Regions from separate parts of the Homo sapiens genome. Here regions 1, 2, 3, 4, 6 and 7 are each linked to region 5. The links are contacts of gene promoters, found by promoter capture Hi-C in blood cells and fetal thymus (Javierre and others, 2016). All regions are on one chromosome and are shown on one strand. The core of a region is centred on a gene start or on the middle of the fragment in contact, and the rest is flanking DNA. Distances in the headings are between cores, read along the strand shown.

Region 1 (3,653 bases), core at 898-3,397, 1.8 Mb before region 5:
AAGATAGCGTCGTCGGCTGGGTTCACCACATCCCAGCGCACGCCGGAGCAGGCTGTAGCAGTTTTAATAAAGTGTCTATAAAGAAAGCTGCCTTCCATCTTCAGTGGCGCCGCCTCCCACTTCAGTCCCCTTCTCGGCCCCACCCCAGCCCTTCCCTCGTTGTCATGGAGGCCCCAGGACGCCAGAGCGGGATAGTTCCGCTCCCGCGGCACCAGAGGCGGGGCACGCAATGACGCATGCGCTCGCTTGGCTGCCCTGGCGCCGCGGTGGCTGCCGGGACTGAGCTCCTAGCACCCGATCGGGAAGTGGCGGGCGGAGTCCCGGGTCCAGTCGCCGCCTCAGCTACCGCCGCTGCCGCCGCCGCCGCCGCCACCGCCAGTGGTGAGACCCCGACCTGGCGGGTCAGCGCTGGGCGTGCGTGCGGGCAGGCGGGGGCGCTGACGAGAAGCAGGAAGAGGGTGCAGTGCCGGCGTGGGCGGCCGGCCGAGGCGGAGGCGCAGGAAGGGGGCGGCGAGTCGTGCGAGGCTGCCCTTCTCACTCAGGTAGGGGCTGCGGCCGCCGGGTGTGGGGCGCAGAGCCCCGGCTTGCTGTTCCCTGGGACGCAGGCGCGCCGCCGCCTCCCGGGAGGCTGAGCGTGACCTCCACCTCACGGGAAGCTGGGACCGCCGTTCTCGAAGCGAAACACCCAGCACGCGAACCGTTCCCCGGAGCATTGTCTTTAGGCCAGAGGTTCATTGAGCAAACTTTTGGGTTGGAAAGAGGGAAAATTCGCGGTCTGCCGCCTGACTGTGCCTCTTCCAAGCCTCCAAGTTCACGGGCGCGGTAGCCAAGCGAACCGTGTGTGGAGTTTGAGCAGCCGCGGGGTCCAGCCAGCTCAAGACTGTGATTTAAAATGATGCTCATACGCGGACTGCTTTCTAGGCTACCTTTTGGAGATTTGGTTTGTGATGATCCCTAAACTTTAACGATAGTAGTTGATTTCTGCAGTCTAAACAACGCTGCGGCCCCCTTTTCGCCCACCTCCCCACTTCCGTCATTTAAGGGCGAAGCAGCCTGCTTTTCATAGCCGGGTCCTGAGGTGCCAGGGACACTAACGAGGCTGGGTAAAAGTGAAAGAGAGGGGAAGTAGTAAGGTTGAAAGAGGTCGAATGGTGGCAAGAATCGTGGGCTTGGAGGCAGATTTCAGTTTAATTTTTGGGTTTTCCGTGTCTGCCCACGGAGGAACCAGCCAACTCCTTGAGTTGTGGTTTTGTTTAATTGTAAAATGGACATGGTGATGTAGCCTGTTTACTCCATAGGGGGGTCCAGAGATCTAAAACTTAGTACACATATTGGGTAGTCTTTGAAAAAGGAGGAAAAGTTAGGCGGAGCACGTGATGGTGAAAGACAGACATTGCGAAGCTTTCTGCTCTAGATGCCTTTGAACGTTCCCGAACCTCACAGGTGGCCTTTGTTTTAAAGGCCTTTACCAGCGTTCCAGGTCTGGTGTAAGGAGCACTTGAGTTAGGAGTCAGGAGGTTTGGTTCCTGGCCCTGGCTCTTCCATCTGTGCGACCTTAACCAGACAGCTTCACTTCAGATTTCACGTATTAAAATAGGAATAACACTAATACCTGTTTGCTCCTAGAGTTGCGAGGGTCAAATACTGTAAGCATTTAGTTTGTTGTAAACTGTACGGCTTTATTTACTTTTTTTTTTTTTTTTTTCTGAGACGGAGTCTCGCACTGTCGCCCGGGCTGGAGTGCAGTGGCGCGATCTTGGCTTACTGCAAGCTCCACGTCCCTGGTTCAAGCGATTCTCCTGCCTCAGCCTCCCAAGTAGTTGGGATTACAGGCACCCGCAACGACACCCTGCACATTTTTTAAATTTTTAATGGAGACGGAGTTTCACCATGTTGGCCAGACTCGTCTAGAACTCCTGACCTCGTGATCCGCCCTCCTCGGCCTCCCAAAGTGCTGGGATTACAGGCGTGAGCCGCTGCGCCCGGCCTATTTAAATCTTTTAGAGTAATTTTTTTAAAGTCCAGATTGAGGTCCTGCCTTTGCAACGTGAAATAAGACACAAATGTTTCCTGTTCTAGAAATTTACTTTTTGCTCCCACCTTCTCACTTGACAATTCTCCTTTCTTCTTCTTGGCCCCACGCTTTCCCTCCTCCCAAGGCTGTCTCCTACTTTCCTCAGCCCGGTAAATCATTCCCTTCTTTCAGATCCAACTCAAAATAGTAATACTGAAATAACACGTTTTTATGACTTTACTGTTTAAAAAATAACATACACATTTTCTCATTCTTACAATTGGGCTGGATGTGGACAGCTTTCATAGCGTCCTCATTTCACTTATGAAATTGAATGTAGAGGCCTTGTGGGTTGCCTAGCCAGGTGGCTTTAGGAATTGAAACTGAGGCCGGGTGCGGTGACTCACGCCTGTAATCTAAGCACTTTGGGAGGCTGAGGTGGGCGGATCACTTGAGGTCAGGAGTTCAAGATCAGCTTGGCCAACATGGTGAATGAACCCCGTCTCTACTAAAAATACAGACATTGGCGGGGCGTGGTGCTGCGCGCCTGTAGTCCCAGCTACTCGGGAGGCTGAGCCAGGAGAATCGCTTGAGCCCAGGAGGCGGAGGTTGCATTGAGCCGAGATTGCACCACTGCACTCTGCCAGCCTGGGCGGCAGAGCGAGACTCTGTCTCAAAAAAAAAGAAAAAAAAATTGAAACTGAGAGAAGGCAGGTTTTTGATTCACCGTCCAGTGATTGTTCACGCCTTAATTGAAATTCAGTCTGATTATTTCTTATCAATGCTTATATTTAAAATTTTTAGCTCAATGCTTCCATTTTCTCAAATCTAAGCAGCATGTAGACAAGGATTTATCTTCCGTAACCTTTCAAAGCTTAGAGCACAGTGCCTCACAAACAAGATATTTAATAAAGGCTTGTGAAACCAGTAATAATGGGACCAGAGCAATTTAAAGATGATGTTCCATGTGTTGTTCATTTAACAAATATTTATTGAGCTATCTGTGCTTAAAAGCTTTCAAAGTATGAGTCTTTTTCCTCCCAGCTGACACTAGTCTTAACAGTGTCAAATTCATTTATATAGTCAGCTTGAGGTCTTCATAGACCCTCTGTAGGGTTCTAGCAGAGTTCAGAAGAGAGGTGTGTTTAGAATTCTTGTTGGTTGACCTGTAGCTTCCCTGGTTGTAGTGAAATTGCTTTGAGTTGTAATTTTAGAACTAGACAAACAACAACCACAACATAGAAGTTGCCTCAAACCACCTCCCTCCAAATTGGAAATTTTCTGTAGACTTTTTTTTTTTTTTTGAGACAGAGTTTTGCTGTATCCCCCAGGCTGGAGGGCAGTGGCGGGATCTCAGCTTACTGCAACCTCTGCTGGACTCAAACAGTTCTCGTGTCTCAGCGTTCTGAGTAGCCCGGACTACACGTATGTGTCACTATGACTGGCTAATTTCGTAGAGATAGGGTTTCACTATGTTGCCCAGGCTGGTCTCTCAGCCTCCCAAAGTGCTGGGATTACAGACATGAGCCACTGTGCCCGGCTCTCTGTAGACATTTCTAACAAATAGTATAATAATTCAGCCTCTTCATCACTTAATAATTGAGAGTTCACCAGTTGTAAAAATATGCCATTTTATGTA
Region 2 (3,825 bases), core at 968-3,467, 1.2 Mb before region 5:
CCCTTTACTATGCCAGATGGTCCCCAATGCAAATCCCTTCAGTTTTATCCTCTCCAGAGAATACATCTCCAGACAGTTTCCTTAGTGGGGAAGAGGGAGTTAGAACAGTGTGGAGTTGGGGAGAGGATCTGGGAATATGGCTTCCTCTCAAGTAGCTTTCACCCTGTAGTGTGTATTCCAGGCATCTCCCATTCCAGAGCTGCCATTTCCCGTTTTTTGTTTTTTTTTTTTTGTTTTTTTTTAGGGATTCTGTTATGTACATCAGGTTGATTCTCAGTTTCCCCCTTTGCTGTTCTGGCATTTGTCTTTCACTTAGGTCTAGTCATCTACCACTAGTCCATTTACTTTCTCCTTCCAAAATTCTGCTGTCATCTCCTCTTTCGTTTTACCTGACCACAGTCATTCACATCATCAAAACAATGTATTTATTATAGTTTTAGTAGAATTTTGGGAGGCTGCAAATTCTGCTAATCTGACAGGTTGAATATAGGGAATTGGGTACTCACAAAATGGTAGAAAGCGATGCCTATTACATCTGCCACATTGAAAAATAGATTGTTCATGTCAAGCTTCATGACAGCCAGGAAGCTGATTAGAGGATACTATCAGTTTGAAAACTCATGGTCTCCATGCCTGTGTTTACTAGCTGAAGGACAGAGCACTGTATAAGTCTAGGGTCTGCTTTCCAGATTTTGCTCGAGTCCCTCTGGTTGGCAGAACTGAAATTGCTTTTGGCAACTATAGCTGCAAGAGGTTTTGGGATTCCTTTTGCTTTGCAGGAAGGCATACCTGTTTGAGGGTGAAGTGGATGTTGACTGAGCCAATCCACAGCATCTTCCATCAATAATCCACAACATGATAAATAGGAAGACTTTGTCCTTATTTTCCAATAATGCATAGAAATTCATTTTTTTTTTTTTTTTGAGATGGAGTTTCATTCTTGTTGCCTAGGCTGGAGTGCAATGGTGTGATCTTGGCTCACTGCAACCTCCTCCTCCCAGGTTCAAGCGATTCTCCTGCCTCACCCTCCCAAGTAGCTGGGATTACAGGCATGTGCCACCACTCCCGGCTAATTTTGTATATTTAGTAGAGATGGGGTTTCGCCGTGTTGGCTAGGCTGGTCTCGAACTCCTGAGCTCAGGTGATCCACGTGCCTCGGCCTCCCAAAGTGCTGGGATTACAGGTGTGAGCCACCACACCCAACCTAAAAATTTCATTTTTGCACATGAATGCCAGACATAATTTTATTGTTTTGACTCCTCCTTTCAAAGTCTCTTGTCAGTATGTTTTAAATTTTTTAGTTTGTGAAATAGTTTAAATAGTTTTGATTTTTAAAATTATGAAATACCTAAAGTATTTAAACATACAGAAGTGTACAATGAACCTACACATAGTCATCACCCAGTTTTATTGAATCTTTATATTTTGCCATATTTGCTACAAATCCCCCACTCCCAGTAATAAAACATTAGGAATAGAGCTAAAATCTCTTTTCTTTCTCTCTCCCTAGACTAGATACTTATTTGAATTTGGTGTTAAATCCTTCCCATACATGTTTTCATGTTGTTATTATATACATATATAGACATTAACAGTATGTAGTACTGTTTTGCCTTTTTTAAAGGTTTATGTAAAGCTGTCATACAAAACATTCTGCAACTTGTATTTTGTTTAAAATGTTTTTGCCATCTATCTAGTTTGATACATGAATTCTAGTTCACTCATTTTAACTGCTATGTAATATTCCACTGTAATAGGTCAGAATGTGTTAATTTCTTCACCTGTTGATGGACATTTAAAGCATTAAATGTGCTTCAGGAACATGCTTATATTCTTGCCATTTTAATTAACCACTATTATTATTACACAGTAGTACAATGTTTCAGGTTAATGAACTTTTTGTTCTTTTGATTTAGCAAAAATGATGTACAACTTGTGCTGTAGAAGCATCTGGCCTGAAATGCAGGGAGATCTTAAAAGTGTGACCTGAATTTTGTTCAGAAGGCCTGAATGTTGTTGGGATAGTTTTGAGAAATAGATTCATCCTCTCTTAGCCATCCTCAGAAGGCAAGAAAGGCATTTCCTATGACGAGAGTTTCGTTAGGATGAACCTTTCTTTCTCTGACACGATACTTACTTTGTGTTCCTCTGTTTTCTTGCTGTTTCAGACAGAATGTTGCTGCGGGATGTAAAAGCTCTTACCCTCCACTATGACCGCTATACCACCTCCCGCAGGCTGGATCCCATCCCACAGTTGAAATGTGTTGGAGGCACAGCTGGTTGTGATTCTTATACCCCAAAAGTCATACAGTGTCAGAACAAAGGCTGGGATGGGTATGATGTACAGGTAATATCCACTACAGTAATGGCAGTCTAAATGGGGTTTTTATTCAGTAAATTGTTTATTGGGACATTATTCAGTCTTTTGAGGGTGCACCTACGGAAATCTCAGATCAGCCTAAAATATGTAAGTAAATCAATCACTCTTCCTGTGGAAGAAATGGCCTCCAAAAGAAATGAACTGATTTTAAAGCCTGAAAATACTCATTTTAGTTTTTGTATCGTGACCTCCTTCTAAGATATTTGTAAATTTTCACAACTTTTTATATACTTGAGGGTGAGGGATAGGGGATATCTTATGGTTGTCATTTTCCTGTCGTTCCTCAAAGAATACCAACCTACCCTTAAGACAAAGTTAAGATAATTAGGAATTATAGATCGTAAATAGTAGGGGTTCATATATCTCTATTGTGCTTCTAGCACTTGATTTTAAAATTGTCTTAGAACTGAGGGTGGTTACTTTTGAAAGGAAGCATTTCGGCAGGTTTCATTGATTGCCTTTGGGACGCTGGTGTTTTGTATACGAGCAGAGCATCTCCTTGAAGTTCCAAAACTGAATATGCTTTAGAGATAGATTTTATTAAATGAATTCAGTTTAAATCACTAGTTACATATTTCTACTTTGTATTCTGACTGCTTTCAAAATTGATTTAAGACGACTGGTCACAAGGCAAGAAACTTATGTTGACGATTTCCCCTCTCCATCAGAATGATATTCTTGTTTGATACAACCTTTATGCGTGGTCTTTGCAATTCAGAGAGGAAGTTGATGTGTACTGGGTGATACTTACTTCACAATATTTTCCCCCAGTACTGCTAAGTTGAATCATAGAATTCTCTGGGTTATAGCAGAAGTCTCACTCCACTTTACTTATGACTTTTAGAGTCTTGATGGGAAAAAAAGGCAGTAATGGTGATGTCATTCATTAAGCATGTATTAATTGCAATATACAAAAATGAATAAGGTAGAATGAAGAAACTGTCTTACTAGTAGAAGAGGTAAGACAGGCACTCAGATTACATGTAGGTCCCAACACAACATTATAAAGTCACGTCTGGTTGGAGCCATTGGGACTTAAAGGATGAGACATTTGTGCTGTGTTAGGAAGGAATGATAACATTTTTAGAGAGGAAAGGCTAGAGAAGGGAATAGCATGAGCAAAGGAGTGTTGAGCATATCATACATTGGCTTATGTTTAGTAGCAGGAGAGAGGCCATTTAGTAGCAGGACAGAAACTCCTTCTATTCCAAGAGTTGAAATTTAAATACAGTACTTAGAAGCTACTTGTAAGTACGCATGATTAAGGAAGTGGTAGTTAACATGAAATACCAATACAAGTTTAGCTTGTTTTATTTACCTAAGTCAACAAACCTATGAATCTTCCTCCAAATAAAATTATTTTAAAAACAGTGTAGTAACAGCAACAAAAGAAAAACTGCATCTTATCCAAATGAAAAACTTTTGACTATCAAAGGACATCATCA
Region 3 (3,869 bases), core at 808-3,307, 1.2 Mb before region 5:
TATACTGGTTGTTCCAGCATAATTATATGAAGTTCAATGGATATATTACTTTCTTTTGGATAAACATTTCATGATTGCAGCCTTTTGGGAAGCTACATCTCTCTACTACTTCATATTGAGCTTATGAAAGTGACAAAAAAAATGCCACTCTATTTCACTAACTACTATTTCACTGAATTACTAACAGGAAGTCTCTCACCGTTCCTCATTTGTGCAACTGGTTAAAAAAACAAAGCAAAACAAAGAACACCAAGTTCAGGAATTATCAGTTACACACATTAATCTTCATCCCCTTACTTGTCCCTATCTTTTATGGAAGACAATAAAATATTTGTGTAGTAGATATCACTACTAATTCTTATACTTACAATAATCCTGGCACCTTAACCAACACGGATTCAGGATTCTCACTTTTTTGAAAATTATGGATAACTTTGAAAAGCAATGCCAGATTTTATCTTCTCAGATATACAATTGCTCATGGTGTCTCCCAGTCAAAAGTTGTTAGAAAGCAACCAGTCATGGCCCAAAGAATACCCCAAATTTCGAATTGAGTGTTTCCCAGAATCATTGGTTGTCACTTTCCTTTTCTCTAAGTACATTTTCTCTTTTATCACTAGAGGGCAATAATGCTCCACTATACAAGTCAGAAATCTCATTGCGGACAGTAAAATCTCCTAATATTTAGTAGGTTGCTTATGCTGTTGTAAACCTGCTAGATAGATTATTTATTTCCTTCCAGATTGTCACCAGACCATAAAAGATTGCCCCTAGAACCCTTCCCCTTTTTACACAAGTATATTTCCCCTTTTTACACAAAATGTCTCTGACATACTATTAGAATCAATGTAGTCTGCTGTAACTGGTCTCACATTTTCAATCATATAGGACTTAACTCTTTTCCATACAGCAAAATATTTCCAGATTCTGATGACTTCTCATCTCTTCTGCTATTGTCACTCAGGTTCAAGCCACTATCATTTGCTGTCTTAGTGGGGTCTACCCTGACAACTTGCATCAGTTAGGATAGGTCGGGTTATGCTGCAGTAACAAACAAGACCAAAAATCTCATTAGCTTAATATGTAGCTCACACCAAGTGTCTAACACAGGTTGGCAGGGGCTTTGGCTCATGATGTTATTCAGGAATTCTGGCCAAGTGAAGCTTCCTATGGCATGCAGCAGTGGGAGAGGCATGTGGAGAATCACACACTATACTTAAAGCTTCTGTCCAGAAATCACACACATCATTTCTGCTCACATTCCATTGGCCAAAACAAGTCCTATGGCTGTACTTAACTTTAATATGATAGGGAAGTACAATCCTAGTATAAGCCTGGAGATCAAAAACCATATGTATTTGGTGAACAGCAGTAAGGAAACCAAACCACTCTAATGATAATTTCACTTCCCCATTTCTGCCCTAGGACTTTGGATTTCCCTTATTCTGTTCTATTTTCTCCTATAACCCTTATCTTCTGACTTACTATATAATTTACTTTATTATTACTTTTCCTACCCCCTCTTTCTAGAATATAAATTCCACAAGGACAGGGATTTTTGTCTATCTTGTTCTATACTATGTCCATATTGTTCGCAACAGTGCCTGTCTCATACTAGGTATTCAACACATATTGAATGAATGAGTAACCAATGGATCATACATCAATTTTCTTCACCTTATACAACAGCCCACCCTATATGTGGAATGATGACACAAATTAGAGAAATTGACACTGTGCTTATTCAAAACCATGATATTTAGGCTGGGCATGGTGGCTCACAACCGTAATCCCAGCACTTTGGGAGGTTGAGGTGGGCGGATCATTTAAGGTCAGGAGTTCGAGACCAGCCTGGCCAACATGGTGAAACCCTGTCTCTACTAAAAATACAAAAATTAGCCGGACGTGATGGTGGGCGCCTGTAATCCCAGCTACTCAGGAGGCTGAGGCAGGAGAATTGCTTGAACCTGGAAGGCAGATGTTGCAATGAGCCAAGATCACGCCACTGCACTCCAGCTTGGGCAACAGAGTGAGACTCTATTTCAATAAAAAAAACAAAAACAAAAACAAAAACAAAAACCCAAACCATGATATTTAGGAAAGTCTTTGCAAGTAGGATGTCTTACTGGGAGAATGAAGTCTTTTGAATCCGGGACCTATTAAAGCATCATGACAACAAGCAGATTGGGAATATTGTTTACTGTACTGTCTTTATTGTTGGATGCATAAGCATGATGGTAAACATAATGGTAAGTCAATTATTTTCTTTTCTTATTTAATTAATTACTTATTACTTATTATTACCTTTCACTTGATGATTTCTGGAAGCTGGTGTTGGAATGGCAGTGTCGTCCCCCACATCCATGGCCACGATGTCCGGCTAAATTTTGTATTTTTAGTAGAGACAGAGTTTCACCATGTTGGCCAGGCTGGTCTCGAGCTCCTGACCTCAAGTGATTCGCCCACCTCAACCTCCTAATTAATAAGTAATTAATTAAATTAAATCAATTAGCTAATTAATTAATAAGTAATTAATTACATTAATAATCAATTAATTAAATTGGTCTTGTTCTGTCACCCAGGCTGGAGTGCAGTGGTGGGTTCATAGCTTGCTGTAGCCCTGAACTTTTGGGCTCAAGCGATCCTTCCACCTCAGCCTCCAGAGTAGTTGGGACTACAGGTGTGTGCTACCACACCCAGCTAATATTTTTTTCATTTTTGGTAGAGATGGGTCCCACTATGTTGCCCAGGCTGGTCTCAAACTCCTGGCCTCAAGAGATCCTCTTGCCTCGGCCTCCTAAAGTGCTGGGATTAGAGGCATGAACCACTGTGCCTGGCCAATTATTTTAAATATATGCTGTTTCGGTCCCTGCAGAGGCAGATGGAAGCTTAAAAGCTGTCAGCAGTCAAGCATCAAAAAGTGGAGTCAGATTCCTCATTGCGTATACATTCTTATTATTAGTTCAATACTGCCTAACTTGATATTTTAAATAACTCACAATTATTAGTTAGTTATTGGACTTCATGGAAATGAAAGGATCTGTTGTCATTTTCTGTAGGGAAAATGCCCGTGTGGCGGAGCAACAGGCAAGGATGCTTCTCAGATGACTTCCATCATTAAGTGTCTGTGATTCTGGGACATTGCTGTTCCAACACCAGCTTCCAGAAGTCATCAAGTGAAAGGTGATAAAGAAATTGTTTTATCTCATTATTTCCCTTTCTTGCCTTACCCTGTAAGCCTGGTCATAAGAAAGAAGAATAGGCTGGGCGCAGTGGCTCACGCTTGTAATCTCAGCACTTTGGGAAGCCAAGGCAGGCAGATCATTTAAGGTCAGGAGTTCAAGATCAGCCTGGCCAACATAATGAAACCCATCTCTACTAAAAATACAAAAGTTAGCTGGGCGTGCTGGCACACACCTGTAATGCCAGCTACTCAGGAGGTTGAGACAAGGAGAATCACTTGAATCTGGGAGGTGAAGGTTGCAGTGAGCTGAGATCACAACACTGCACTCCAACCTGGACGACAGAGTGAGGCTGTGTTTCAAAAAAAAAAAAAAACAAAAAACAAGAAGAATAGTCAAAGAATGGAGAGGTTTGATGGTTATTTTGATTTCAAAGAAGTTATGGAAACCTCTTTTTCTTTTTTTTTTGTTTTGAGATGGAGTCTTGCTCTGTCATCCAGACTGGAGTGCAGGGGTGCAATCTTGGCTCACTGCAACCTTGGCCTCCCAGGTTCAAGCAATTCTCCTGCCTCAGCCTCCTGAGTAGCTGGGATTACAGGCACCTGCCACCATGCTTGGCTAATTTTTGTATTTTTGGGGTTTCACCATGTTGGCCAGGCTGGTCTTGAACTCTTTACCTCATGATCC
Region 4 (4,056 bases), core at 1,253-3,752, 1.2 Mb before region 5:
TTTACATTTCCCAGACCAGGGAGAGGATGCAACTCCTATGCCCCAGTAAACAGCATTTATTGGAGTCTGTGAAAACATTACTAAAATAGCCCTTATCTTTCATTAGTTTTCCCCTATATATTTACCTTCTTAAAATCTACTGCCCCTAGAAGTCCAAAACCTTTCCTTTGTCTACTTTTCCACAATGCATCACCCTTTGTTAAAATGATACATGCTCCCAGGCCTAATTACTTTTTGAGTTTTCACTTCTTTTCTGTGAAGCCTCCTTGTGCATGCAAAATAAACCTTTTTTTTTTTCCTGGTAATCTGTACTTTGTTAGTTTAATTCACAGTTCTCAGCTTCTGAACCTAGGAGGGTAAAGAAAGTTTTTATCCTTTCCTACACTAGGAAAGATGGGTAAATAGTTCTCTGAAAACTTTTGATTGCGATCTGCCAAGGAAAATTTCCCCCAAGGAGAGACAACACAGTGATGAATAAATGTGTTAATAGAGAACGGAAAAGCCATCGCAGGTGGCGGGGTGTGTTGTTTGTGTGTGTGTGTTTGCGTGTGTTTGTGTGTGTGCGTGTTTGTGTTTGTGTGTGCCTGCATGTGTGTGTGCATGCATGTGTTTGTGCGTGTTTGTGTGTATGTGTTTGTGTACGTGTTTGCGTGTGCATGGGTATTTGTGTGTGCGTGTGTGTGCGTCCTTGTGCGTGTTTGGGTGTTGTGTGTGTGCGTTTGTCTGTGCGTGCGTTTGTGTGCGTGTCTGTGTATGCGTTTGTGCGTGCATGTGTGTTTGTGTGCGTGCGTGTCTGTGTTGTGGGCGTGTTTGTGTGTGCCTGCATGTGTTTGCGTGTTTGTGCACGTTTGCGTGTGTATGCATGTTTGTGTGTGTGCGTGTGTTTGTGCATGTGTGTTTGTGTGTGTTTTGTGTGTTGTGTTTTTGTGTGTTTGTGTGTTTGCGTGCGCGCATGTATGTATGTGTGGTGGGGAGTTAGGAGCTTTGGCAGCAAATGGAGCAAGGAACTTGCTTGGTCCCTTGGAGAAAAGAGAGGTGGCCAATGGGGTTGGTCAAGGTTGGGGTGGGGCAGCATGCTTATATAGTAGGGACGTACACAAGCAGTTTTGGGTTTTCTCTCTGAGCAATAAAAATCTTTTGAAGGTTTTAAAAGGAAGTAGGTGGGGGTGAGCTACGTACGATTTGAATTTTTAACTTTTTTTCAGTCATCAGACTAACATAAAGTGGCATGTAAGACTGTGGAGTGAATGTTTAGAAGAGATATTTCCAATATGCTTTAAAATGAGAGCAAATGGGAAGCTTGAGGCATTACCCACTTCGCTTCTCTCTACTATTTCTAGAGTTGAATTACAATTTAAACAACAACAACAACAACAACAAACAGGTCACTTCTTGAGTCTTAATGCACCAAATGAGTCTATGGGTGTTTTGTAGGAGAGTAGAATTTTTTTCTGTTCAAGTTAGTGCAGAAAGATCTACCATCTCTTTCCTGTATCATGAAAAAAGTTTCCATTTAAGGATGTGGTAACAAAACCACAAGGCACACTTGAACATATGCCATGGAAATACACGCTGTTTACACGGAATCTGTGAGCCACCAGCTCCTTTCTCTAAACTACTGAAGCAGGCATATACGTCCTTCTCCCCAGCCATCTTGAATGGATAGGTGGAATTCCTGGAGAAGTGAATAATTCCATCCCACATGTCACCTACCACAACACCTTTTCTTGTTTTGTTCTGTGAACCCACAATATGTGAGACAGGTCTCAGTCAATTTAGAAAGTTTATTTTGCCAGGGTTGAAGACGCACCCTTGACACGCCTCAGCAGGTCTTGATGACCTGTGTCCAAAGTGGTTGGGGCACAGCTTGGTGTTATACATTTTAGGGAGACATGAGACATCAATAACTGTATATAAGGTGTACATTGGTTCGGTCTGCAAAGGCGGGACAACTCAAAGTGGGGAGGGGGTGTCCAGGTCATAGGTAGATAAGAGACAAATGGTTGCCTTATTTTGAGTTTCTTTTTCTTCCTTTCTTTTTTTTGAGACCAAGTCTCACTCTGTCACCCAAGCTGCAGGCTGGAGTACAGTGGTGCGATCTCGGCTCACTGCAACCTTCAACTTCTGGGCTCGAGCAATTCTCCTGCCTCAGCCTCCCGAATAGCTGAGATTACAGGTGCCCACCACCACACGTGGCTAATTTTTTTGTTCTTTTTTTTGAGGCTGGAGTGCTGTGGCACCATCTGTCTTCTGGATTCAAGTGATTCTCCTGCTTCAGCTTCCCAAGTAGCTGGGATTACAGGCATGTGCCACCACACCTGGCTAATTTTCGTATTTTTAGTTAGAGACGGGTTTAACCATGTTGGCCAAGCTGGTCTTGAACTCCTAAGCTCAAGTGATCCACTTGCCTCGGCCTCCCAAAGTGCTAGGATTATAGGCATGAGCCACCATGTCTGGCCTCTTCTGAGTTTCTGATTAGCCTTTCACTGAATACACAATTTACAGGTATAGTCACTTATGCTTTAGTCTGGGTTAGTGAAAAAACAGGGCAAAGGAAGCAATCAGATAAGCATTTGTCTCACAGTGAGCAAAGGATGACTTTGAGTTCTCTCTGTCCTTTGTCCACAAGGAATATCCTTGTGGGCAAATTGTGAGGTAGGTATGTAGCTTTATTTTTTTCATTTATTTTTATTATTATTTTTATCTTTGTAGCTATCTTATGTAGGATAAGATAGCTACAAAGATAAATTTCCCTTTTTTTTTTTTTTTGAGGCAGGGTTTTATCCTGTTGCCCAGGCTGCAGTGCAGTGGAGCAATCACAGTCATGGTAGCTTCCTGTCATGGCAGCCTCCACCTCCAGGGCTCAAGCTATCCTCCTGCCTCAGCCTCCCGAGTAGCTGGGACCACAGATATGCACCACCATGGCCCGCTAATTTTTTACTTTTTGTAGAGGCGGGGTTTTGCCATGTTGTCCAGGCTAGTTTTGAACTCTGGGACTCAAGAGATCCTCCCACTTTGGCCTCCCAAAGGGCTGGGATCACAGGTGTAAGCCACTACCCCCAGCCTGATTTGCTCTTTTCAGTACAAATGTGTTGGCATTACAGATGTCCTTGACAACATTCATGGGCAACTGGGATTACTCATCAGGTTACAGGAATCTACATTCTTTTCTTCCATGGTCACAGAATCCTGAGAGATTGTGCTCCTTATCTTTCCCATGAGATTCAGTGTTTCCAGCACAAAAACACTCATCACTCTAAGGACCATTTTTGGTTTACTGGTCTAGGGACCAGTTGTGTCCGGAATTGGTGGGTTCTTGGTTTCACTGACTTCAAGAATGAAGCTGTGGACCCTCACGGTGAGTGTTACAGTTCTTAAAGACGGTGGGTCCGGAATTTGTTCCTTCTGATGTTCGGACATGTCCGGAGTTTCTTCCTTCTGGTGGGTTCGTGGTCTCGCTGACTTCAGGAGTGAAGCCACAGACCTTCGCAGTGAGTGTTACAGCTCTTAAAGGTGGCGCGTCCAAAGCTATTCGTTCCTCCCGTCTGGAATTGTTTGTTCTTCCCAGTGGGTTCGTGGTCTCGCTGGCTTCAGGAATGAAGCCGCAGACCTTCGCTATGAGTGTTACAGCTCATAAAGGCAGCACAAATCCAAACAGTGAGCAGCAGCAGCATTTATTGCAAAAAGCAAAATAAGAAAGCTTCCACACCCAGGAAGGGGACCCCAGCGGATTGCCGCTGCTGCTCTGGTGGCCTTTCTTTATTCCCTTATCTGGCCCCACCCACATCCTGCTGATTGGTCCATTTTACAGAGAGCTGATTGGTCCGTTTTGACAGAGTGCTGATTGGTGCATTTACAAACCTTTAGCTACACAGAGTGCTGATTGGTGCGTTTACAATCCTTTAGCTAGACACAAAAGTTCTCCAAGTCCCCACCCGATTAGCTAGACACAGAGGCTGATTGTTGTGTTTACAAACCTTTAGCTAGACACAGAGTGCTGATTGGTGCATTTACAGCCCTTTAACTAGACAGAAAGCTCTCCAAGTCCCCACCGGT
Region 5 (3,937 bases), core at 250-2,749:
GGGTGGAGGACGCCTTTCAAAGTAGCCCCAATAGTGTAACCAAAACACGGTTCCGGAATAAAATATTAAGAAACACTTTTCCTTTCCCACCTATCTACCGACTTGAGGATGCAAAAAATCCATCTCCACATCACACCATCTCTACAGTTCTCGTGGCTGGAGTTTGGGGTGGAGATTCGTCCAGGGGAGGGGGCGGAGGCGAGTGGCAGAGTGTGAGCGGGCGACGGGACACAAGCGAGTTGTTGAGCCCGGCCGCCTCGCACCACGTCGCCAGCCCAAACGCCCAGCACCAGGACCTCACGCCCGCCCCTCAGCCCAGGCCCAGAGCGAGCGAGGACTCGCGCTGTCTAACTTCCCATCTACAGACACCGCTCCAAGACGAGCAGAGCACACAAGTACACGTCACACAGTTTAAACACACTTACACACCCCAAACAAACCAACACACCTGCAAATCACCTCACAGTTTCCAGAACTCCACACCGGAGACCCCACCTCCAGGATTCAAACCTTCCGCTCATCGTAGAGGAAACCAGAAGAGTTGGGGGGCAGTCGACGCCTTTCCAGGACCGGACCCCACGAACTGCCCCACCCCACAGCCCGCGTCTGGGTCACCCACTCGGAAGCCCCCTGCTTCCTCCCTCCTCTCAATCCGGCCGCTTACGAGACCCATCCCCAGCGTCCGCTCACTTCCTCCCCAAAACCCCTCCAAAAAAATTGTTTTAAGTGAAGAGAAAGAAGTGAGGAAAGAGACTTGAGGTAGTCCGGCTTCAAAACCGCTCGACTCACCTCAGAATCCTCGCTGAGTTCTCTCCGCCCGGCACAGCCCCCTCCCCAACGTCCCAGTACGAAGGGCTGAGATAGGGAGGAGGGAAGGCGGGAGGGGGAGGGGTGTCTTCCGCGTGGGGCGCCCGTCGGGAGGGGACTGGGGAGGGGTTGAGGCCGGCGCAGGAAGAGGAGAAGGGGGAGGGGAGGCCCCTATCTCCCAGTCTCCCCCTGAAAAACCTCCCTTGTCTCAATCACATCAGACTGACTGTCTTTGTCTGGCTGACAACCGCCATATTGATATCAACAGCCCCTCTCCCACCTGCTGCCGCCGGGCGTCCCTGGGAGTTGTAGTTCCTGCCTCCCCTGAGAAAAATTGCGGAGCCCGGCGCCTAGAGGGCCAAGGGAACTACAACTTCCGGCAAGCCCCGTGCCCATCCGCCTTCCCTTTGGGAGGAGGGAAAGGGGAGTCGGAGCCGTCGGGACTACACATCCCAGAACACCATGGGCCCCAGGCCCGTAAGGAAGACATGATATCATGCTGGGGTGGAGAGGGAGGATGCATTGGCGGCTGGGATGAATTTGAGCTGACGGAAGGAGGCGTTCGGAGAGGAAAGGGAGGAAAAGGAAAGGCGACCACAGTTCCCATGATGCCTGGAGGGGAGACTACATTTCCCATTATTCCCCTGGAAGGGACGTGAGGATGAAAGACTGCAAGTCCCGCGATGCTCTCGGCTGGCAGGTGGCGGAGATTGCACCGGAAGACGCTTCCTGGGTTTGAGGAGTTCAGTGACTGCTATTGAACCACCAAAAGTCCATTATGAAACTGGTGAGTCTTCGCTCCTAGGTCAGAGGGCAAAGGTGATGCTATAACCTTTTGGACCTCTTTTTTTCCTACGTTGGGCAGGGAATCGTCGCACGGGAGGGGTAGCAATTATTGAGCTGGAAAGTGGAGTGGGCTAAGGAAAGCTGCTTTTTGTTGTTGAGAAGGTTTGAATTCCCTCTCCCCCACCCCATCCCTCCCAGGAGGTCTTTTTTCACTCGTTAGTGGGTCTTTTTGTTCAGACAAGAGGTTGACTGTCACAGTCCTTCGCCCATGAACTCTGTGGGCTCTGTTAACCAGGTTTGGACGTCCTGGTTCCCACGTGAGGGTTATAATAGGCTGTTAACAATCCGTTTCCATTCGATTGGCGCTTGAGTATCCTGTCTCCCTACTGTTGTTGAGACTGGCTAGATTTAAGCAGACAGTAAAAAACATCCAGCAGAACGTAATCACTTATTAAATATCCTGTTATATAGACTCCTCACTGCCCTTGGAATTCAGGACGAGGTCAGAGTGTGGAGAAGTTGAGTCTTAAACCCTGCATGGGATTTAGATGGGCAGAGAAGTGTTATATGGTATTCCATTCTAAGACTGTAGGGACTTCATGAGCCAAGGCTGAATGAAGCGTGCTCGGTATACCTGAAGTCTTAACATCACACAGCTCAAGCACCTGGTTCATGGAGGCTCCTCAGACCTTTGATTTGAGCCATTTGACTCATTGTGCACACAAGTCTAACTAGTTTATTCCAACTCGATTCAATTAGTTAATAACATAGTGTAGAAAGGCAGGTGTGAAACACTGTTTCTCAACCTTTTAAAACCCATATTTGTGCAGCCAAGTTATTGTCAAGCTTTACTTGAGGCAGGAGAATCGCTTGAACCCGGGAGGCAGAGGTTGCAGTAAGCCAAGATCGCGCCACTGCACTCCAGCCTTGCAACAGCGCGAGACTCTGTCTCAAAAAAAAAAAAAGTTTATTTTTTACCATTTATATAATTATCTGAACATGCTTTGCCAAACCACACAACACACCTACCCTCATCTTGATAATCATTGTGCTACAGGCATATATTCTGCAAAGCCAGCTGTTTTCTGCGAAGTCAGAGAAAGTATTAAAAGTGGATTCAATTCCGAAATTGTCCCCGTATAAATCTGTTTATATAAGGGGAAGGATGCGGGTCACTAAACCTTGAGAATAGCAACTTACCCCTGGGTCAGTGTGTTACACATTTAATAATGCAGAATTAAAAGTCATAGCCGTTGCCCTACAGAAGCATGCAACCTAAGAAGAAGATAGAAAAGTAAACCAAAGTTATTATTTATTTATTTAGAGACAGGGTCTGGCTTTGTGGGGCCCAGACTGAAGTGCAGTGGCGCGTTCTCAGCTCGCTGCTACCTCCACCTTTCGGACTCAAGCGATCCTCTCGCCGCGTCAGTCTCCCCATATAGCTGGGAATACAGGCGCGCACCACTGCACCCTGCTTATTTTTTTTGTAGAAATGGGGTTTAACCATGTTGCCCAGGCTGGTCTCAAACTCCTGGGTTCAAGGTATCTGCCCACCTCAACCTTCCAAAGTGCTGGAATTACAGGCATGAGCCACCATGCCTGGTCCGAAATTATAATTCACTGTGTTCATGGTGAAATAGAGGCGTGTTCAGGGTTTTGGGAATTCAGAGAACAGAGGATTGGGGAGGTCAGGGGACAGCTTCCTGGAAACGTGACTCTTGAACTGATAAGGATAAGTAAGCCAGGGCCTTCCATGAAAGAGGTCAGCTTATAGGAGCATAAGAGCTTGGTACCTTATTGGCTAAAGCATGGACCCTGTGTTCTCAATAAAGAGCAAATTATATTTAATGTGTTCAGTTTAAGAAGGCAGGGAAGTGTGAAATAGTTTTTCCCATAACAACTCATTAGTGAGGGTATCAAAAAGCCAGGGTTTACTTTACATATATTTTAGTTTGCTCATAAAATCCTCCTGCTTAATTTATTTAGAAATATGAAACCGGGGATTGTAAAAAAGTGGAAAATTATTTTTTCCATTAAGAACCAAAGATGTCTCAGAGGAAAAGGAAGTATTCTATTGATACTCATACTCCCTCTTTACTTTGCAACTATGTATTACATACTAAAATTTATTTGGTAGTTGATAGATAAATGTAATTGAGAATTCCCATCAACATACCAAAAGCATTGTTGCTCAGTAAGTTAGATGGGTGTGTCATGCCTCCCAAATGGTTGGAATAAGTCCTCCCATGGCCTAAAAGTTTTAATTTTGTGTACTGCTTCAGAAATATGTAATAGGCTGTGTTTTAAATTTATAATTATGAAACAAAAACACATTTTGTTTAGC
Region 6 (3,647 bases), core at 1,105-3,604, 1.3 Mb before region 5:
CCTGTAATCCCAACACTTTGGGAAGCTGAGGCAGGAGGATCGCTTGAGCCCAGGAGTTTAAGACTAGCTTGGCAAAATAGCGAGACCCTGTCTCAAAAAAAAAAAAAGAAAGAAAAAAAAAACCAAAACGGGGTTGTTGTAACATTGGGGGATTTAAAAAAAAAAGAAAAGAAAAAATGTAAAATGGGGAAGAAGTAGAAATGCCAGGGAAAATCTACATAATTAATTACATCACTTCAGTCTTACTTTCCTTCTAACTGAAGAATGCATTGCAAACTACTATAAGGTATTATTCCTAGAATATCATGATGATAGCCACAATTATAATGCAGTAAAATGATGAGTAAAAAGAACACAGAGGAGCATTTTGATAAATATGTGGTCCCAGTCTGCAGTAGAGATTGTAAAAAATTAAAAAACATAACTTTCCTCATTTTGCTTCATAAACACTTCGCAAGTGGTTTAGGTAATACAAAAGACAAAGAGTTACCACGGCACTGAAAAGAAATAATTAAATCAACCAACCTGGCAAATTCTTTTTTCTTTTTTCTTTTTTTTTTTTTCTGAGAAGGAGTTTCGCTCTTGTTGCCCAGGCTGGAGTGCAACGGCGCGATCTCGGCTCACCGCAACCTCTGCCTCCCAGGTTCAAGCAATTGTCCTGCCTCAGCCTCCCGAGTAGCTGGGATTACAGGCATGCACCACCATGCCCAGCTAATTTTGTATTTTTAGTAGTGACGGGGTTTCTCCATGTTGAGGCTGGTCTTGAACTCCTGACCTCATGTGATCCGCCCGCCTCAGCCTCACAAAGTGCTGGGATTACAGGCGTGAGCCACCGTGCCCGTCCTAACCTGGCAAATTCTTAACAATGTTCCATAATACTGGCACAATCTCCACTGGTTTTATAAGACAAGATGCCTAAATTGTTTGGAGGCTTAGATTTTTTTTTGGAAAAAAAAAATGACGTTACAGGGTTTTTTTTTTTTTCATTAAAGAAACTGTTCATTTAAGGAAATAAAGTGTATTTCCTCTCTGAAAGTGTAATAGTTCACTGAACACTTTAGTCTGGTAGCATACAGGTGACATGCGGCTGCTGGTAAGAATGAGCTCACACCAATAAAACTACAAGGGCACCATATCCAGGTAAACCCCAGTTAAAAGAACAGAGTAAAATGTTTGAGGAACTTAGTCAAGTTCACGTAAGTAAAATGTTGGACTTGAACTCTGGCAAGGCTACACTGAGAAGATCTGACAGCGTTAACAGCAAATATTTATTGACAGCTTACTACTCACAATTTTCATGTTTTCTTTCAAGAAACCTAGGAGGTAGATACTACTATTTTGCATGTTATGAAAATTGCTCATTGCCATCCAATATCTCTTCTCCTCTTTTTCCTTGTAATAGAACCCTGATCTCATTAGCGGCTGCAATGCAACCAGCTAAGACTACAACTCCCAAACTCCCTTGCAGCTTGATGTGTCCATGAGATTGTCTTAGCCATGAGACACACAGAGGAGGGTCGTGTGGAACTTTCAGGAAGGCTGTTTAAAGGGAGCTGACTCACAGCTGGAACACATGCCCTTTTGCTTCCACGCCTCCCCTTTCTCATCCAAGATGATGCTTGGTGCTCTAGCCATCACTTCCTGGCCTGCAGGGCCGGAGCTCCATGCTGGACAATCAACCGATCAGCCCTCCATTACTCACCTTGAAACTTTTTATATGAGAGAATAAACCTCTGCAGGTGTAAGCCACCCCTACATGCAGCCGAACCTGATCCTGATACACACAATTATATAGATGGGAAAAACATCAAGGTTAGAGAGGTTAAGTAATATGTTCAAAGTAACCCAGCAAGAAAGGAGCAAGGAGCAGAGTAGCCCAGGTCTGTTGACTCCATGGCCCACGCTCTCCACGAAGCTCCACAAAGGCAGCACCTTTGTCTGCTGTGCTTACTGACGTGTCTCTAGCACTAGCACAGTGCCTGGCACATCGCAGGTACACAACAGATCTCTCTTAAATACATGAATGACTTTGTTATACAGCCTCATTAGTATTTCAGATAGGAGTTTAAACACAGCCTCCATCACACTACATTCTTTCAGAAATTTAAACACATAGGAGAAAATGCATTATTTTGTCAATAAAACTAGGACATCAGTGAAATAAACATGGAAGACGGTATCTAATTGTAAAGCACTAAAATAGATTAAATCACATCAATTCTTGAAAAACAGTAAATAAACTATTTCTTACCGATAGTTACATCTCCTCTGATTTCACTTTCTACACATACAACTGCTCCAGGAGCAATCTTCACACTGTAGCAAGAAAAAGGTAACATTTACCAGGGGTAAGATTAAACATACTGTTGGAGGAGCTACCGTGACATTGTAATGAAAACAAGGTTTAAAAAATGATGGAAAAAAAGGCCAGGCGCAGTGGCTCACGCCTGTAATCCTAGCACTTTGGGAGGCCGAGGTGGGGGGATCACCTGAGGTCAGGAGTTCGACACCAGCCTTACCAACATGAAGAAACCCCATCTCTACTAAAAATACAAAACTAGCCAGGCGTGGTGGCGAGCACCTGTAATCCCAGCTACTTGGGAGGCTGAGGCAGGAGAATCACTTGAACTCGGGAGACAGAGTTTGCAGTGAGCCGAGATCGCGCCATTGCACTCAAGCATGGGCAACAAGAGTGAAACTCTGTCTCAGGAAAAAAAAAAAAAAAAAGATGGAAAAATGGAAAGTCAATGGTAAGAGGGTAAGGTTTTAATACATTATAAATTTTTCAATTGGTATATTGTCCATCATCCCAAATCACATGTGCTAAAACACTTGAGAAGAGTTTTGAATCTTTTCTTTTAATAGCAGCACGTTTCTAAACAACAAAAAGCTGAAAACAACCTAGATATTCATCAGTGGAAGATTAGTTAATAAATTATGGCACATTATGGACTATTACATGGCCATCAAAAAGAATGAATAATCTCTTGTCAAGATTTTGGAATGGCTGAGCACAGTGGCTCACACCTGTAATCCCAGCACTCTGGGAGGCCAAGGAAGGAGAACTGCTTAAGCCCAGGAATTCAAGACCAGCCTGGGCAACATAGTGAGACCTCATCTTTTTTTTTTGAGACAGAGTTTCACTCTTGTTGCCCAGGCTGGAGTGCAATGGCACCATCTCGGCTCACTGCAACCTCTGCCTCCCAGGTTCAAGCAACTCTCCTGCCTCAGCCTCCCTAGTAGCTGGGATTACAGGCATGTGCCACCACACCTGGCTAATTTTGTATTTTTAGTAGAGACGGGGTTTTTTCAGGTTGGTGAGGCTGGTCTCGAACTCCCGACCTCAGGTGATCCACCCACCTCAGCCTCCCAAAGTGCTGAGATTACAGGCATAAGCCACCGTGCCCGGCGACCTCATCTCTTAAAAAAAAAAATATGGAATGATCTCCAAGCTATATTGTTAAAAGTAAAAAAGAGTGAAGTGAGAAAATGGACAGTATGTAATATGCCATTATTTTTGTAAAGGTAGGAAGAAAAAATATACATTCAAACTATTTAACAACCAGCAAGGTAATACTAACTTAGAAATTTAAAATTTACAAATGTTTCTGTTTACTCTCATATATATATATACATACACATATATG
Region 7 (4,162 bases), core at 443-2,942, 1.2 Mb before region 5:
TCTTTTAATTCTTAGGGACTAACACCTTTGTCTTCACTGCTACACTCAGTTAATGTTTAGAGCCAATTCTTGCTTATGTTTTGGAAGTTGATGATTTAGACCCTCCCTGACAAAAATAAATCCACCTACACTTGGTTTAATCCTAGGAAGTTGTTTCAATTGTAAACCCTTTCAGAAACAATCTTCAAATAGATGACATAAGTAAACCTAGCTTTCAGGAAAACATCTGTCCTATTTTGGGGAGGTTCCCAAATCTACACAAGTTCATTTACTTTTATGTCACAGTTGTATTTACATGATATTATACAATAAACTGATCTACCAAGAGAAAAAGATACTTCCAATATTAAATGCCAGACACACTATATATCAAGATAATTAATAAATACTAATGCTTTTACAAACAGATATGGAAATACTCAGGTTTATTCTTTAGTATTTTATTCTATTGGCTGGTTTCTATGGTTGTAAACTGCCACAACGCTTCTCTTTCATAGTATTAGACATTCTATTTGCTTTTTTTTTATTTTGGGACAGAGTCTCACTCTGCCACCCAGACTGGAGTGCAGTGGCGTGATCTTGGCTCACTGCAACCTCTGCCTCCTGGGTTCAAGCGATTCTACTGCCTCAGCCTCCCAAGTAGCTGGGACTACAGGCGCCACCACCACACCCGACTTAATTTTTGTATTTTTAGAAGAGATGGGGTTTCACTATGTTGGCCAGGATGGTCTCGAACTTTTGACCTCAAGTGATCCGCACCGCCCCCCAACCCAGCCTCCCAAAATGCTGGGATTACAGGTGTGAGCCACCATGCCCAGCCTCTACTGGCTTTTGAAGTAAAAAAAAATTCCTGATTCTGCCCCCACTACACACACGCGCGCACGCACACACACACACGGAGTACTGCCTCTAAATACAAAACTCTGCAGAATTACAGTTGAAAGATAAGTGTTTTATGGTCTTAATCTCTCACTCATAGAAACAGGTTTGGATTTGCTCTGTTCCCACCACCCTCTGCTAGAATTTACAAGCTTAACAGTTAATATCTGAATTACTGTGACTAACCATGTGTATGGGCATAAACCCACAGATGAATTCAAATAATCTTCAAGAGACTGGAAGCAAAGCATACAGTATAAAGTTTCTTGTAAAAATAAACTGTAAATCTATCTTCATCCCTAAACTTTCAGTAACTAAACACAAAGGGTGAAGTGAGATATAAGACCCTGGAAATCAGACAAAGGTCTATGAGTATCTTGAGCTCAGAATAACCCCAACATTAAAGTGTAGTAAACTTAATTATAAGCCTTCTTCTGCTGCACAGCATGGTAACACCTCCCTTATCTGGTGCTCCTTTTGCAATCTCAGATTATCTAGTATACAGTTAAAAATTATTTTTTTCTTAAAAAAGCCTTTCAAGAGGAAGAATACCTGTCACAAAGCATTTCATTTGTGTAAGAGGTAGGAGGCACCCTAATTAAGTCCACTGATGTACTGTGTACAGAAATGTTACATAATTGATTTAATAAGCTTGGTTGCCTTATTTTTTTCTTGACCACTTTCCACTCTTCCTAATATACTGTAAGTCAGCAACTTGGAAACAAAATAAGTTAAGGGGTGCTAGAAACAAATACTCAGTTGTATGAAAAGGATCAAAAACACAATTCCAGAAAAATACAGGTCGGCAGCCACTTACAATGGGGGGGAAATAGTTTATGATGATAGTCCTAAATTACCAAGGAAAAATTAAAGTGTTTTAATATATTCTAAGAAAGCACATGTGTACAATCCATTTAATACTTTCATCAAATGATTAAAGTAAAACAAACATTAGTTCTTAGTAAGCTAAGCTTCATTGATCTAAAATATTTACCTACAGGACATGTTTTCTTCCTTGAGAATGCCATAAAATGAACAGACCTGTAATAAAATCAGAGCTCCTAATCTTCACTGAAAGAAAGGGCAATACAAGCTTATAGAGAAGAAATACGAATTTCAATTTCCCACCAATCGTATACATCATAAAGCATCCTGGGATCTAAAACACACATACCACTTAACAATAACGTTGTGTTGCTTGTTAACTTTGGTGCATTGATTAAAAGTTATCTGAAACTTAAAAATCTAGTCACATTCAATATAAATATCCTAGACTTTAGAAATCTGGATTATTTTGGCCAAAGTGTGGTGGCTCACGCCTGTAATCCCAGCACTTTTTTTCGGGGCGGGGGGGTGGTTTGAGGGGGGTTGTGGTGGTGATGGCTTGAGGCCAGGAGTTTGAGACCAGCGTGGCCAACATGGCAAAACCCCATCTCTACAAAAAATACGAAAATTAGCCAGGCGTGGTGGTGCAGGCCTATAATCCCAGCTACTCAGAAGGCTGAGCGGCAGGGCGATAACTTGAGGCCAGGAGTTTGAGACCAGTGTGGCCAGCATGGCAAAACCATGTTTCTACAAGAAATACAAAAATTAGCCAGGTGTGGTGACCTATGCCTGTAATCCCAGCTACGTAGGAGGCTGAGGTATGAGAATCGCTTGAACCTAGCAGTTGCAGTGAGCCAAGATCGTACCACTGCACTCCAGCCTGGGCACAAAGCAAGTCTCAAAAAAAAAAAAAAAATCTGTATTGACAATGTCCCCAAAATCATATTAGAGCAGACATTTAGTGTCCACAGCCTAAACTTTTTAAAGTATATGATAAGATTATAATTAGGACAATTTGGGACACGACTAATATTTGAAAATACAGAACAGTACTTTTCTCTCTTCACAGTGTACCAAACAGAAATATTTTTTGTTTAAAATGTTTGCAAAAAGTAACATGCTATAATAATGAGTGGTAATAAATACATAATAAGAAGTCATAAAAATGTTCTGAAAATTTAAGAAGTAGGACCTTGCCTTTAGATCAGTAGTAGTCTTAAATGTCAACAAAACCTTTTATGACTATTTTTGTAAAAGATTTTGTAAAAATTCTACTTCCCAGATTACCAATCCTTTTACTACAGCTCAAAATTACAGGGCTGCATTGTAATATCTGTAACTATGGTTTCCATTTTATTTTGGAATGGAAACTTCTGCAACTCTAACATTACACCAATGTCATCTTGCTTTACATCACCTTATTAGAATGTTAATGCACTTCAGAATGAAAGTGTGCCATATATTTTCATTTCAAAAACACCCACAAACTAAAATAGATATTTAAAATCTTTATTGTTTCATCATCAAAAGTTTTCTTTCCATAGAAGAATGGTAATATTGTATCAGTGCATATTCTATGGAAAATTCATATCTCAAGTAACTAGCCTAGAAATCAGAGACAGCACTATGTCAAGCTAGTATACAAGGTCAAAGACACAATGCTGCCAATGCAGTTAGTATATAGAAATAATACGCAGCTGTTAGAAAAAGTCTGTGGCCAAGTGGATAAAACAGTAGCAGTGCACTGCACTGACATCCAGAACAGAAAATAGGGAAGGACCAGAGAATGCACTTCCTGCAAAAAAAAGTCCAGTAGATCACAAGCACAAAGAGTTCCCAACTGTCTCACCAGCTCTCTAACTCATGTGTACCTGCACCTTCCTCTTGAAATCTGAACATTATAATACCACAAGCCACTTTCAGCCTCCAGTGGGAAGGCTCCAGCCACACGCCGATATTTCGTCCTGCTTCCCGTCATCTCATATCTAAAAGTCATGGCTTAAGTTAGGCAATAAAACCTGTGGCTTTAGGCATCTTTAGTAAAAAAGCTGAACAAATCCCAAATTTATTCCCATTTTCTTGAGAAATAAACTTCATAAAACAACAGACAGCTGTCATGATTACTGAGTTTTGGCTGATGGCGAAATAATTTTTATGTAAGTATACTGAATAAACATACAAACAAATATCCTTAACAAAATACTGTCAGACCAACTTGAATGTTTTTATAACCCACTCCTGAAAAAAGTCCTGATAATTATTAGATGTAAACGACCACTATAAATTGATCATGCCTGGTTACTGGGAATTTTTTGGTCAGGTATGTTTCTGAAGCTGCTATATAGCTGGACTTGGCTACTTTGCATTAACTCACACAACAAATGCCTTTTATAAGGAAACAGCAGATCTATCATGATGAACTCAAAATCAAAACAGTTCAGAGGTATACAGGAAACTT

Evidence for each region. The method cuts DNA at HindIII sites, captures the fragments that hold promoters and counts their contacts. A CHiCAGO score of 5 or more calls a contact.
Region 1: a contact is called between a fragment that was not itself captured here and the fragment with the promoter of INTS9 in region 5, in 1 of 17 cell types (fetal thymus). The highest score is 5.4, in fetal thymus.
Region 2: a contact is called between a fragment that was not itself captured here and the fragment with the promoter of INTS9 in region 5, in 1 of 17 cell types (fetal thymus). The highest score is 7.9, in fetal thymus.
Region 3: a contact is called between a fragment that was not itself captured here and the fragment with the promoter of INTS9 in region 5, in 7 of 17 cell types (naive CD8 T cells, fetal thymus, naive CD4 T cells and 4 more). The highest score is 8.4, in naive CD8 T cells.
Region 4: a contact is called between a fragment that was not itself captured here and the fragment with the promoter of INTS9 in region 5, in 1 of 17 cell types (fetal thymus). The highest score is 9.3, in fetal thymus.
Region 6: a contact is called between a fragment that was not itself captured here and the fragment with the promoter of INTS9 in region 5, in 1 of 17 cell types (fetal thymus). The highest score is 5.7, in fetal thymus.
Region 7: a fragment that was not itself captured here is called in contact with the fragment with the promoter of INTS9 in region 5 in 2 of 17 cell types (activated CD4 T cells and fetal thymus); the score reaches 5.4 in activated CD4 T cells.

The regions. Positions count from the first base shown.
Region 1 is chr8:30,654,862-30,658,514 of GRCh38, reverse strand. It overlaps GTF2E2 (general transcription factor IIE subunit 2), which reads left to right and starts at 279. Exons shown (of 8, transcript NM_002095.6): 1 at 279-542. RefSeq lists enhancers at 1-407, 1,079-1,750 and silencers at 185-594, 605-694. The HindIII fragment of the contact is 1,487 bases long and covers 1,404-2,890 here.
Region 2 is chr8:30,072,399-30,076,223 of GRCh38, reverse strand. SARAF (store-operated calcium entry associated regulatory factor) reads left to right here. Exons shown (of 6, transcript NM_016127.6): 2 at 2,169-2,347. Among named protein-coding and RNA genes, the nearest start is that of SARAF, 8.8 kb to the left of the region's middle. The HindIII fragment of the contact is 3,292 bases long and covers 572-3,825 here.
Region 3 is chr8:30,047,995-30,051,863 of GRCh38, reverse strand. No RefSeq gene overlaps it. Among named protein-coding and RNA genes, the nearest start is that of SARAF, 33 kb to the left of the region's middle. The HindIII fragment of the contact is 1,666 bases long and covers 1,225-2,890 here.
Region 4 is chr8:30,088,482-30,092,537 of GRCh38, reverse strand. No RefSeq gene overlaps it. Among named protein-coding and RNA genes, the nearest start is that of LEPROTL1, 4.9 kb to the left of the region's middle. The HindIII fragment of the contact is 2,401 bases long and covers 1,302-3,702 here.
Region 5 is chr8:28,887,531-28,891,467 of GRCh38, reverse strand. INTS9 (integrator complex subunit 9) reads left to right here and starts at 1,499. Exons shown (of 17, transcript NM_018250.4): 1 at 1,499-1,594. The coding sequence starts at 1,586. HMBOX1 (homeobox containing 1) reads right to left here and starts at 1,073. Exons shown (of 10, transcript NM_001135726.3): 1 at 790-1,073. RefSeq lists a silencer at 831-950 and enhancers at 603-1,159, 1,321-1,520, 1,160-1,716. The HindIII fragment of the contact is 2,854 bases long and covers 1-2,441 here.
Region 6 is chr8:30,162,780-30,166,426 of GRCh38, reverse strand. It overlaps DCTN6 (dynactin subunit 6), which reads right to left. Exons shown (of 7, transcript NM_006571.4): 2 at 2,252-2,316. Among named protein-coding and RNA genes, the nearest start is that of DCTN6-DT, 7.9 kb to the right of the region's middle. The HindIII fragment of the contact is 5,050 bases long and covers 1-3,647 here.
Region 7 is chr8:30,107,102-30,111,263 of GRCh38, reverse strand. It overlaps LEPROTL1 (leptin receptor overlapping transcript like 1), which reads right to left. Exons shown (of 4, transcript NM_015344.3): 4 at 2,740-4,162. Among named protein-coding and RNA genes, the nearest start is that of LEPROTL1, 14 kb to the right of the region's middle. The HindIII fragment of the contact is 320 bases long and covers 1,533-1,852 here.